2 separate regions of the Homo sapiens genome follow, and region 2 is linked to region 1. Evidence: promoter capture Hi-C in 16 types of primary human blood cells and fetal thymus (Javierre and others, 2016). All regions are on one chromosome and are shown on one strand. The core of a region is centred on a gene start or on the middle of the fragment in contact, and the rest is flanking DNA. Distances in the headings are between cores, read along the strand shown. Region 1 holds the start of DCDC1 (doublecortin domain containing 1). Region 2 has its middle 31 kb from the start of SNORA88.

Region 1 (5,724 bases), core at 1-2,500:
CAATTAAATCAAATTAATACCTGGATTCCTGCCACTGGTATCCTATTTTCTGGAAACCTAAATTTGTGGTTTCATATAAAAATTGATTTTTTTCCCCTCATGATTTAAAATCTGAAAGAAAAGACTTACCATTAATATGAGTTTTTGATATTTTTGTTTTAGGTCTGATATATTTGCAGATGGGTCTGCTCCCAGGATGCTGTACCAATCCTTTTTTGGCATCTGCTCAACCGCCATCATCCATGGAACCAGAAGTGGGCCTTCTCAGATTAGCTGAATAGAAATATTAATGACAATTCATCACAGTTTGCCATGTATCTAAGAAAAAATTAAGTACTGCCCTTGTAAATTCTTTAGTATTTAGTCGAGTAAATCATGATTATAATGCAAACCTGAGGAAGCACAGATTTTCATTTAAAATGCCCCAAGAATTCCAGGTATAAGTGTACCGACAAGTATGGAAAACGTGTTAGGTATTTCACGATATATATTTATACTTTAATTAATGAACAGCATTAAAAAAAAGAATTTTATAATGAACCAGGTGGTGTATGAACCTCTAAGAAGGTATTTCTGCTAGTCTTATGATAAAACTGGCACACAAGTAAGCACCCACTAAACACGCTGGAGGAGCTTAATGAATATTTACAAAATGAACGAATAAAAAAAAAGCAAAACAGAACATCAAAGAATTAAAATAAATTTGGGGGCATTCCTTCTGAAAGTTTCTCGTTTGCTTTTCCTCCAGATTGTCTGGAGAGCATGATATGGGAAATAACGTCAGCACCAGCTGGTAGAGAACAAGAGTCCCCTGTTATTGGAGAGGCGCTGAGACCTCGCAAAGACAGAGTGAAACTCTCTACGCGAGGATGCCCCAGTCTTCCACGCTCCAGAAGAGAGACCCTACCAGGAGCCCCAGAAATCAGGCAACCTCTTCCCACAGCTATATACACTTAACGAAACAGCCGGGGCCTCCTCAAGCTCGGGACTTGGGAATCTTCTCCATTCACAGTCGGCTTTACCCACCCAGCCATTGGCGGGCACCCTCTCCGCGCTTTATACGACATCAGACCTACCTAACTTCACATAGGCGCTGCTACCCACTCCTCGCCTGCTGTCGGCCAGAACTCCGGACCGGCTTCTTCTTCCGCCGGAAGTCACTGTTCCGACGTGTTCGCGTTTCTGGCCGAGCTGATGTGGCCGTGGCACAGCTCAGAAGCGACGCTCCGCCCACCCCGACGCGGTCTCTATGGTAACCGGTCACCGCTTCTATGGAGTGGCGTTTACTACCAGTAAGTTCCCAAACTGTGAAGAAAGGCGCCTTTGGCTTCGCTCTAAGTCTCTCTTTTCCGGGCCCCGCGACTGTCGCTTCTCTCCTCCTCCTCAGCGAGCACCCCCTCGCCATCCCAGGCTTTCCCCGCCTTTTTCAAAGCTTCCTCCGTTTACCGTACCCTGAGCTACTCTCAATCTTTTCGGTTGGTGCTTGAACTCTGGGGTGAGAGAGGGGTGCGGGGGCAAGGATGTGAGAAGGATGAGGAGACCTGATGCCACTCTCGTCCCTACAGTTCCTTTACAATGTTCTAATTCGAAAATTAAAAGAACTAAAACCTATGCCAGGTAGGGCTAGATGTGCGGGGGATGGGGTCGGTTTAATTTTTTCTGCAGAAGATATTCGACGTAATTATTAATATTTCTTTTAGACCTTAGCAACCAACTTACAACATAAAAACGTTCCAAAATTCTTTCACATTTGCTATTTCACTTCGCTTTCATTTCAACCCAGTGAGACAAGTAAGGCAGGTGCCATTATTCCCACTTTATAGATGAGGAAAGAAATCAAGGATCAAGGCCAAACAGCTAGTTGGGTAGGGGCAGAACAAGGACTCAGCAAGTCTACACATTCCCAGGGCAGCTATGCTATCTTTCAAGCTTACAGAAAAAAGCAGAATGAACTGTTCTTCTTCGAAGCAGTTAGGGGGCACTGCATATGGGCACTGTTGGGGTTTGTTATTGTTGCTGGTGGTGGTGGTGGTGGTGGTGGTGGTGTTTTTCTCACCTTTCTTTCTTCTCCCTTTCTTGATTCCTGTGTTTCCTTTTATTACTTCTTTGTGCTGCTTACTTTACATTAACACCTCTTCCTAGCATTGTACCTGGAGATGAAAACTACATCTTATTTTTGGCCAGCATGACATAAATTTCACTTGGAGATGTTAAAATGGTTTTGTTGTTACTGCTTTGATTTTGCTTTCCTTCTTTTTTAAACTTCTACCAATCTGAGTTTGAGAAGCAGTCAAGATAAACTTAAGCAGAATAAATAAAATAATCTAATATGATCAGTTATTTAATGATGTTATGAACTATAAAGAATAACTGAATGAAACAAGCAAGTTTAAAAATCTAAAGATGAAAGCATAGATTAGGTTCTCCACAGGGTTTTGTCATGTTTAAAGGCAGATACAAAGAGCATCTGGTTTTAGTCCTGGCTGCATCATACTTTCTTGTGTGGCCTCATGAAAATACCTAAAGCAATGGAATTAAGTAGTGTGGTGAATGCTTTTCTAAACAGTACTGTCAGAATGATGCCACCTTGAACATCTCTAGCCCTCAAACTCCCTTCTGTCCACAGCTTGGTTCTTCCTTGTGTAGGTAGATATGCTCCGGTACTCCAGGTTTTTTGTTTTTTACAGCAAAAGCATTTTATTTTGATTTACTATTTATTAGGTTATTGTGTTACCTTATTTATTTATTGGGGTTTGGAAAGTAAGAAATAGTTTTTTTCCCCAGCAATACCAAATATTTTGTCATTTCATCTCTACATACTTTAGTTTGCATCCCTAAAATGTACCAACTTTTTCTTTTATCTCCATAATGTCATTATTGGACTGTCACATAATATCTAGACCTTACTTACATTTCCACGGTTAATTGAAAATGTCTTTTTCTGGTTGGTTTGCTTGACTCAGAATCAGACAAAATGTACACTTTCCATTTAGCTGTTCTGTCTCTTAAATATCTTTTAAATTATAGCAGTCCCATTTCTTCACTAGAACCTTGTTTTTTTCTTTACTTGCCATTGGCTTACTGAATGAGAACAGTTGTCTTACACTCTGCTTATACCAAAATAAACTTCTTAAAACAATTTTTACATAAATTTCTGATCATTAAGCTTCCTTCATTTTTCATTTTATAGAGCAGTACTTTCCAATAGAAATATAATGTAAGCCGTAAGTGCAAGCTACAAAATTAATTAATCTAAAAATTATTAAGGCGATACTTTACATTCTTTTCTCCTACTAAGTCTTCAAAAGCTGGTATGTATTGTGCCCGAACACACCTCAATTTGAACTAGCACATTTCAAATGCTCAGTAGCCACATGTGACTAGTGGCTACTGTATCCAGCAGGGCAGGTCTAGAGAATAAAGTCCTAACTCCTTAACCTAGCATTCAAGTTACCTCTTCAATATGATCCTTACTTTTCCAACCTCCCCTATTATCTCCATACATTAAACATTTAAACAATTGGATCTTTTCATGGTACTGAAATCAACCCAACAGTCCCATAGACAGGGTTTTGTTTGTTTGTTTAGTTTTGTTTATTGGGGTTTTTTAAATTAATAAACATAGAAATGGACACTTCTTTTCTGAAAGCTTGAAACTTGCATTTGTTTTATCTTTTTGTTTGCTTGTTTGAGACAGAGTCTTGCCCTGGTGTCCAGTCTGGAGTGCAGTGGCATGATCTCAGCTCACTGCAGCCTCTACCTCCCAGGCTCAAGTCATCTGCCCACCTCAGATTCCCAAGTAGTTGGGACCACAGGTGCATGCCACTATGCCTGGCTAATGTTTGTATTTTTTTTTGTAGAGATGGAGTTTCACCATGTTGGCCAGGCTGGTCTGGAACTCTTGAGCTCAAGCAATCTGCCTGCCTCAGCCTCCCAAAGTGCTGAGATTACAGGCATGCGCCACTGCGCCCAGCCACATTTTGTTGATCTTTATCTCAGTTCCTTCCTCAAGAAAGGATGCCCAGACCTCTCAACAAGTATCAAAGAGCTGAAACTCACCAGATTACTGCATCTAGACAGTGATATGCCAGACCCCTCATTCTTCGTTATTGTTTCCTTACCCTTCCTTAGTTCCTGTTTTCTCATACGTAGTTAACATTTCTTCCCTGTTATATAAACCCCTAATTTTAGTCAGTGAGGAAGGTGAATTTGACACTGATGTCCCATCTCCTTGGCTGCAGCATCTGATTAAAGCCTTCTTCTTTGACAATAATCATTGTCTCAGTGATTGACTTTTTGGGTGGTAAGCAGCAAGACATAGATGGAACTCCTGGTGTTTTGGTAACAGCATTTCATCAATAATTGTGTTCAAATGCTTCTCCTTACTTATAACACCCTAATTCTTTTCTTCCTCCTATCAGAGTAATCCCTGCTTTAAGGCCTATCTCTTCCATCAAGCCTTTTATGATGGCCTGGTCCTTAGAACTTACTGCCGCCCCTCAACTTTCATAGCAAGTCCTTTGTATATCACAGTATATTGTTTTCCTTAGAATATATTCTGATTCCCCAGTTGGGTTGCAAGCTTTCTGAGAGCAAGAACACCTCTCCAGAGAAACTAAGAACCAGCTATCTTGCCTCATTCTCTGGAGTTCTAATGATACATAGCTCTAATAGTTTTGTTTCTCAGTATCTTATATTTAAAAGGCAATTTATCCATTTTATGTGAAACTTACATAGTGGAAATATAAACTATGTTAGTATCATGGTTAAAAGCATGAACTCTAGAGTCAGAACATATGTGTTTAGTCCAGGCTTTTCCTCTTACGGCTATGTGAACTTAATTCATCTCTTTGCTTTGGTTTCTTCCTCTGTAATATGGGAGTAATAATAGTATTTCCCTCATAGATTTGTTGTGGGAATTAAATGAGATAGTTGTGCCTGAAAGTAATAAGTATTCAGTAAAGGTTAGCTATTGTTGTTATTATTAATTAATAATATTTGTTGCACATTTGATATATTAGAATGTTGGACATTCATAACAGTATTTTAGGAATTTCCAAAGAGAGCAAATGACAGCAAGAAACAATTGAATTGGAAAAATAAAATCAAACCCAAATATTTGTTGAACTGTACATTTGGTTGGACTTCAGAATAAATTAAAAGGATAGGCAAAACTTTAGTTTGCGTCATCAGCATCTAACATAACCAAGGTAGGCGTATATTAAATATTTGATTCCCAGATGATTGATCAAGTGCTATAGATGTAGCTAGATACATCAGGAGTTTAAGATCCTTTGTCATGATGATAGGAAAAAATGACATTGTTATTAAATCTATCACTTTGGTACACGCCTGCCCGTAAACTAACGTCTACCAGACATTCACAAATTCTTAATTTGATGTCATACTAGTCAATTGTGCTTCTCATTGATGGATAATAATGGAAATCTATATCTATATTATATAGATGTATACATATAGTGTACTTCTGCTAATTATTTCCTATTCAGGATTATATTTACTTGGCTCTTTTGGTAGTTCCATCACCAACTATTCCTTCATTTCCTTGATTTTTATTTCTGAATTTTAGGATTTTTATACCAGTGAACTAAGCTGTATTTAAGTACCATGGGATATGATGGTTATGTTCCAAAATTGAATGATTGTCTCTAGAGCAACTTATAATCTACTGGGAAGATAGAAAAACCACCAAAAACTAGCTAG
Region 2 (6,057 bases), core at 2,092-4,591, 800 kb before region 1:
GCTGAGGCATGAGAATTGCTTGAATCCAAGAGGCGGAGGCTGCAGTGAGCTGAGATCATGCCACTGCACTCCAGCCTGGGTGACAGAGCAAGACCCTGTCTTAGAATAAATAAATAAATAAATAAACAGACAAACACATTGACAGTCCTTTTACTCAGTGACCTTTCTGTAAGTAACTACACAATCAGTTGCTCTCAAATTTAGCATGAGGAAGGAAACACATCTATTCAGTCAAACTTATACATCCCTTTGAAGGCAACAGGTAATGAGAACCATATATCCTAGTGTACTTGGCACTTTTTCCTTGGCTGCCAGGAAGCTCAGAACTAAATTTGCTTTGCGAATGTGGTAACTGCCTTACTCAGTTGCTCTTTGTTCTTTCTCATTGACTCCCTATCTTTTTTTTTTTAAAAAAAATTCTTTTAAAAATTTATTATTTTTAGTATGTTTAAATAACATAATCTGCCTTAGATACTTCTGGGAAATAGACTGTATGTATAATATGATTACATATTAAATGAAATAATTTCCTCCTCCCTGGGCAGGCAGCCCTTACTGTGCTTTTCCAGGCAGCCAGAAATCCTCTCTTTGGTCCCGTTGGCCCTGGCTCATGTCGAGTTGGGATGCCCAGCCTGCCTCTCCATCAGTTCATCCCGCCAACCTCCTTAGTGAGATACACTCGCTCTGAGCCCATCCGCCTCTGTTCGCTGGCCTTTTTGGCTTGAGATGTTTTCTATCTTTTCTATATTTCAAAGCTTTGTGGTAAATAATCAATTCAAACCAGCACCGAGTCTCTCTTTCTGTAATTCTAAAAACCCATTAAATTATATTGTTGGGAGAAAACAATAGCTGTGCTAATCATGCCCTGTGCATGCGCATCTTAATTTCCCCAGAGGCCTGAATATGAATTTTTACTAACATGTTAATTTTGTGTGTTAATCAGTAGCTGTAGGCCGAATGAATGGATTGACTATGTAAAACTGTTTGATATTGAAACAACTCCTTTTGACCCCCTCAAATTGGCTTCATTCCCCTAAAGACGGTTAAAGTTAATTAAGCACTCAATAGGTTTATGGTGTTTAAATTAAAATATATTACTCCTCATTGTGTAGTCATCAAGTGAGAAAGACATCCTCCTCCTGGCTGCCTGGCTGGCTAATGGGCTTATCAAAATTCATGATGTAATAAGAAGGCCGACAAGTGCATGAGAGACTCTGGCTGTCACTCAAGGAAAAAACATGGACCACCTTTGCCCACTAGAGGGCACAAGAGAGCCATGAATGCCCATAGCTTGGCGGGTTGGTTTTGGGGATGCAAGTAGGAAAGGCCCTTTGTAGGCCAATTTCTGTCGCTTGTAAAAAAAAACCAATTTATTCTTTTTTTTCTTAATAAATGTGGAGCTCTCTTTATTTCGCTAACTCCCTTCTTTCTTTCCTTCCTTGTTTATATTTTATACCCCTCTCCTTGCTTCTTAGATTTATTTGTGATTCCGCTCTTGACAGTAGTATGCAGTAGAAAATAGCCCACATGGCTTTCAGGAAAAAACAAAACAAAACGTTGCCATCCTTCCTCTGGATAACTTTTCCATAAAATTTTCATTGTATGTGGGCGGGGGGAGCAGGAGCCTTGTGCTTCCCGAGAAAATCACTGACACGGTGCTGAGAAAAATATATAAAATAACACTTAACTCCTCTTTCCAGAAGGACATGTGAAAGCTATAATTGTACCTGCTGACTTTCCCTCTGGGCCTCTCTGGGGCTGGGGGTAGGGACTGTGGCTTTGCAACCTACCATACAGTGAGTGTTTAGATCGGGAAGAATTGCCTAATGAAACCGGCAGAGTGAAGGGGAAGGTAGTGGGGAATCCTGCAGGAATACCAGCTCTGAATTAAAACAGGGCCTAGGCCCCACGAGCTGATCAGGGTGTTGCAACTCATGTCAGATCCAAACCTGCCAGCAAATCCCATTCTTGACGATGAGGACATTAGTCAGATGGGGACAATTGTCTGTGGTCATTTTTGGCAATGTGACTGGTGGTAGAGATTGTTGGGAGATTCAAAAGGATTCTTACCAGTGGATCTATAGCTCATTTTTCATTTTTGTAGAATGGTTTTAAGAAATTTATACTTTTAGGTAGCTCTTAATTGTGTGTATGTGTGCATGCATGTTAGTGTGTGTAGGGGTGAGTCACGAAATGGACATAAGATACCACTTTTAAAGATAAGTAGCCATGAGTATCAGACAAGGAGAAAATGGGTGATATGACAAATGAAATAGGAGTCATTGCAAGGAAAACTTAAAGAATACCAGGTTGCAAAAAAAATTGTGTTTAAAGAGGTGGGAGTCAGGCCAGGCATGGTGGCTCATGTCCGTAATCCTAGCACTTTGGGATGCCAAGGTGGGCAGACTGCTTGAGCCCAGGAGTTCGAGTTCAGCCTGGGCAACATGGTGAAACCCTGTTTCTATAGAAAATACAAAAAATTAGCCGGGCATAGTGGTACATACCTGTAGTCCCAGCTACCCTGGGAGACTGAGGTAGGAGAATCACCTGAGCTGAGGCAGTCAGGCTGCTGTGAACCACCATTGTACCTCTGCACTCCAGCCTGGGTGACAGAATGAGACCCTGTCTCAAAAAAAAAAAAAAAAAAAAGAAAAGAAAAGAAAAAAGAAAAAGGGCTGGGCGCGGTGACTCACGCCTGTAATCCCAGCACTTTGGGAGGCCGAGGCAGGCAGATCACGAGGTCAGGAGATAGAGACCATCCTGGCTAACATGGTGAAACCCCGTCTCTACTAAAAATACAAAAAATTAGCTGGGCGTGGTGGCGGGCGCCTGTAGTCCCAGTTACTTGGGAGGCTGAGGCAGGAGAATGGTGTGAACCCGGAAGGCGGAGGTTGTAGTGAGCCGAGATCGTACCACTGCACTCCAGCCTGGGCGACAGATAGAGAGTCCGTCTCAAACAAAAAAAAAAAAAAGGAAAGAAAAAAGAAAAGGAGGTGGACAGACATTTTGAAGGGCATTGTTTGGCTGTCTTCTAATCTTCTTATTCATGTTTTCAGTAATAGCATGGGGCTTTATTTTCAAAATACTTTCGATTGCTAATAGTTAATAGTGAATATTCCTCAAGGGCAGTGGTTTTCCAGCAATGGGGTAGGGACCAGAACCTGGAGGGTGTGGCCAAGGGGCTGGGGGCTCTGCCCCTGCTTCTACCAGAACGCTCTGCCTTTTTGGGGCTCCACTTAAGATCTAATTTGGAAAAGAGGGTTCCACTGCTAAAAGAGTAAAAGAGAGAGATAGAGGCAAATTTAAAACCTCTGGTTTAAGGCTGGCCTTGCTGGCTTATGCCTGTAATCTCAACACTTTGGGAAATTGAAGCAGGAACATCTCTCAAGCCCAGGAGTTCAAGACCAGCCTGGGCAACATAGGGAGATCCTGTGTCTACTAAATAAATAAATAAATAAATAAATAAATAAATAAAAATTAGCTGGGTGTGGTGGCAATCTCTTGTAGTCCCAGCTACTCAGGAGGCTGAGGTGGGATGATTGCTTGAGCCCTGGAGGTTGAGGCTGCAGGGAGCTGTGATCACACCACTGCACCCAGCCTGGGCAATAGAGTAAGACCCTGTTTCAATAAATAATAAGTAAATAATAAAATTAAACCTCTGGTTGACTGCCTTCTGGTTTACAGAGTTTTCCCATGATCTCACTTGGACCTCACAGAGACTTCATCCTCCCCAATCTCTGTTTTCAGAAGAGGAAGCAAAGTTCATCAAGATGAAGAAATATATTCCTTGTTACACAGTGAGTGGCAGAGCTTGGACTTGAGCCTGAGCCTTCAGAATCCAAATTCAGGACTCCTCCCTTACAGCAGGATAGAGTAGAGTGAGAACCTAAGATCAGACTTGAAGAGGGACCTGATGTGTGATGGCACCCTGGGTGACACAAGGAAAAGTCTCCAGGGAGAGGGTGGTGGTGATTGATTAGCCGGGTGGAGGGAGAAACCTGAGATTTAATAGGCAGGACAGCAGGAGGCAGCAGTGCCCCAGAAAGGGAAGAAACCATCGGAGCCTCCAGCGTCCTGATTGCCGGCCACAGCCCTCCCAGCCAGTCCTAGCCTCTGCATCTGGGACCAGGGATCCTGCCACTGGGCATCTCCTTTCATTTTGGGATTGTCAGCCTCATTCCAGTTCTTCAGCAGGTAGGAAACTGAGTCACAGGGTACCTAAGCTGGCCAGGAATCAGCCCTGCAAATCTGAGGGCCCAGCCCACAGAGTCTCCCATGGCTTTCTGGGGAAACGATTGACGTTATGGGAGTGAAATGGGAACAACTGTGGCCCATCAGCCCCGTGTGTTTAGGGACAGCCCCTCTGGGCAGCCTCCTTTCCAGAATCTCCCACGGATCCTTTGACCACAAAGCCGTGCACACGGTCATTTCATTCACTATTAATGTGCGCCCTTCCCCTGGCGTGGCTGGCTCTTTCTTAAAGTTAACCAGTAACTGGTCTTTTTGTTATCCGATTTCTGTGAGAGGAGCCCTGCCAACAATTCTCACCAAGGGAGCACTTCTGATTTTTGTTTCCTTTCTCTTTCGGGTCTGCGGAAAACCTTTCATGTCCCTTTGTGTCCTAGAGAACGGCACGCCGCCACCCAGAATGTGCCAGCCTACTTGGCTTTCCTCAGCACTGCCGACGGCGCTCTAAACCATTCCCCTAGCATCACATTCCTGACTTCAAACAGGCCAGGGAGATTGAGAGCTCCTCGAATAAGTGGGACTTTCTGGAGATTCTCTTGGGAAGGAGTGACAGGCAGAGAGCAGGAATAATTACACTGAAAGTTTGTTATTTGCTTGCACAGTTTTCTTCCTTTGTGTGGAGTTTATTCCCGGAAGCCCAAAGAGGGGCTTGATAAACAGCAGAAAGGCTACAGAGCCAATTGGCTGGAAAAGAAATGACAATAAAAGTCGCACAGAATGAAGTCTTCTGTCAGCACCCATTTAAGTTAAACAGGTTTACATGTTGCAGCAGAGAATTAACTGTTTGATTTGCTAGAAACCAAGAGAATTTTCAGCACTTGGAGTGAGAAAAAAAAAAAATTTACTTTTAACTTAGGTCTTCAAACCTCCCTCCCCTCCAAAACCAGGACCTAATTGCAATGATTTTCCCATATGGGTCAAAGGGATCATTGGAAAGTCCAAAGGCAAGGCCCTCGGCCCTAAGGGTCTGTAGTTTGCAGCCTAGGAGTACACTCTGTGATAGAAACCTCTCCATGTCATCTCTCCTAATTTGTGCGTGTAATTGACAGCTTGTTAACAGTTCATTAGGAACACTGAAACCCATGTGGCAAAAACAAATCTATCTAGCAGAGAGGATGTAGTCCCTTCTTCTGAAAGCCTGTTTATTAAAATTTTTGCTAGAAACAAAATAGCGTGGCAGGAAATAACCCACTGCATCCTTTCAAAACAAGAACTTTCAGTCCCTCTCTGCTAAACTTCTTGTTTCCTGGGACACAGTGTTGTCTGGCTGGGCTTTGATCGAGCAGAACAGGAACCCGTGGGCCTGTGAGGGGACATACTCAAAGGTCCTCGGGGCAGCGAAGGGAAGACTCATCCATCCATGAACACAGATCAGTCACTCTTTTTTTTTTTTTTTTTTTTTTTTTTTTTTTTTGAGACAGCGTCTGGCTCTGTCGCCCAGGCTGGAGTGCAGTGGCGCGATCTCGGCTCACTGCAAGCTCCGCCTCCTGGGTTCACGCCATTCTCCTGCCTCAGCCTCTCAAGTAGCTGGGACTACAGGAGCCCGCCACCGCTCCCGGATCAGCCACTCTTTAAGGCTCGGAGGATTGGGACTTAACAATCCTGTGATCTTCCTGCCCTCCTACTCACTATTTCTCTAGGTCTCTGGAGGTCTTAAATATTGTCTCGGTGGAAGCTTCTGGTAAAACAACTTGCAATCTAATATAATATAATTTCTTATATTTCTCCCTGATTCCCCTGGGGAAAATTAATTGCCCCTTCCTCTCTGTGCCACAGCACTTCACACTTCCTTTCGCTATGTGTGGTCAC

What was found. Contacts are between HindIII fragments. The CHiCAGO score rates a contact against its expected background, and 5 or more counts as called.
Region 2: a fragment that was not itself captured here is called in contact with the fragment with the promoter of DCDC1 in region 1 in 4 of 17 cell types (activated CD4 T cells, naive CD8 T cells, erythroblasts and 1 more); the score reaches 7.1 in activated CD4 T cells.

What each region holds. Positions count from the first base shown.
Region 1 is chr11:31,365,265-31,370,988 of GRCh38, reverse strand. DCDC1 (doublecortin domain containing 1) reads left to right here and starts at 1,250. Exons shown (of 39, transcript NM_001387274.1): 1 at 1,250-1,292. It overlaps DNAJC24 (DnaJ heat shock protein family (Hsp40) member C24), which reads right to left and starts at 1,129. Exons shown (of 5, transcript NM_181706.5): 1 at 1,077-1,129; 2 at 130-273. The coding sequence starts at 240. RefSeq lists an enhancer at 837-1,316. The HindIII fragment of the contact is 5,979 bases long and covers 1-1,434 here.
Region 2 is chr11:32,171,595-32,177,651 of GRCh38, reverse strand. No RefSeq gene overlaps it. Among named protein-coding and RNA genes, the nearest start is that of SNORA88, 31 kb to the right of the region's middle. RefSeq lists enhancers at 464-1,708, 213-2,162. The HindIII fragment of the contact is 5,168 bases long and covers 758-5,925 here.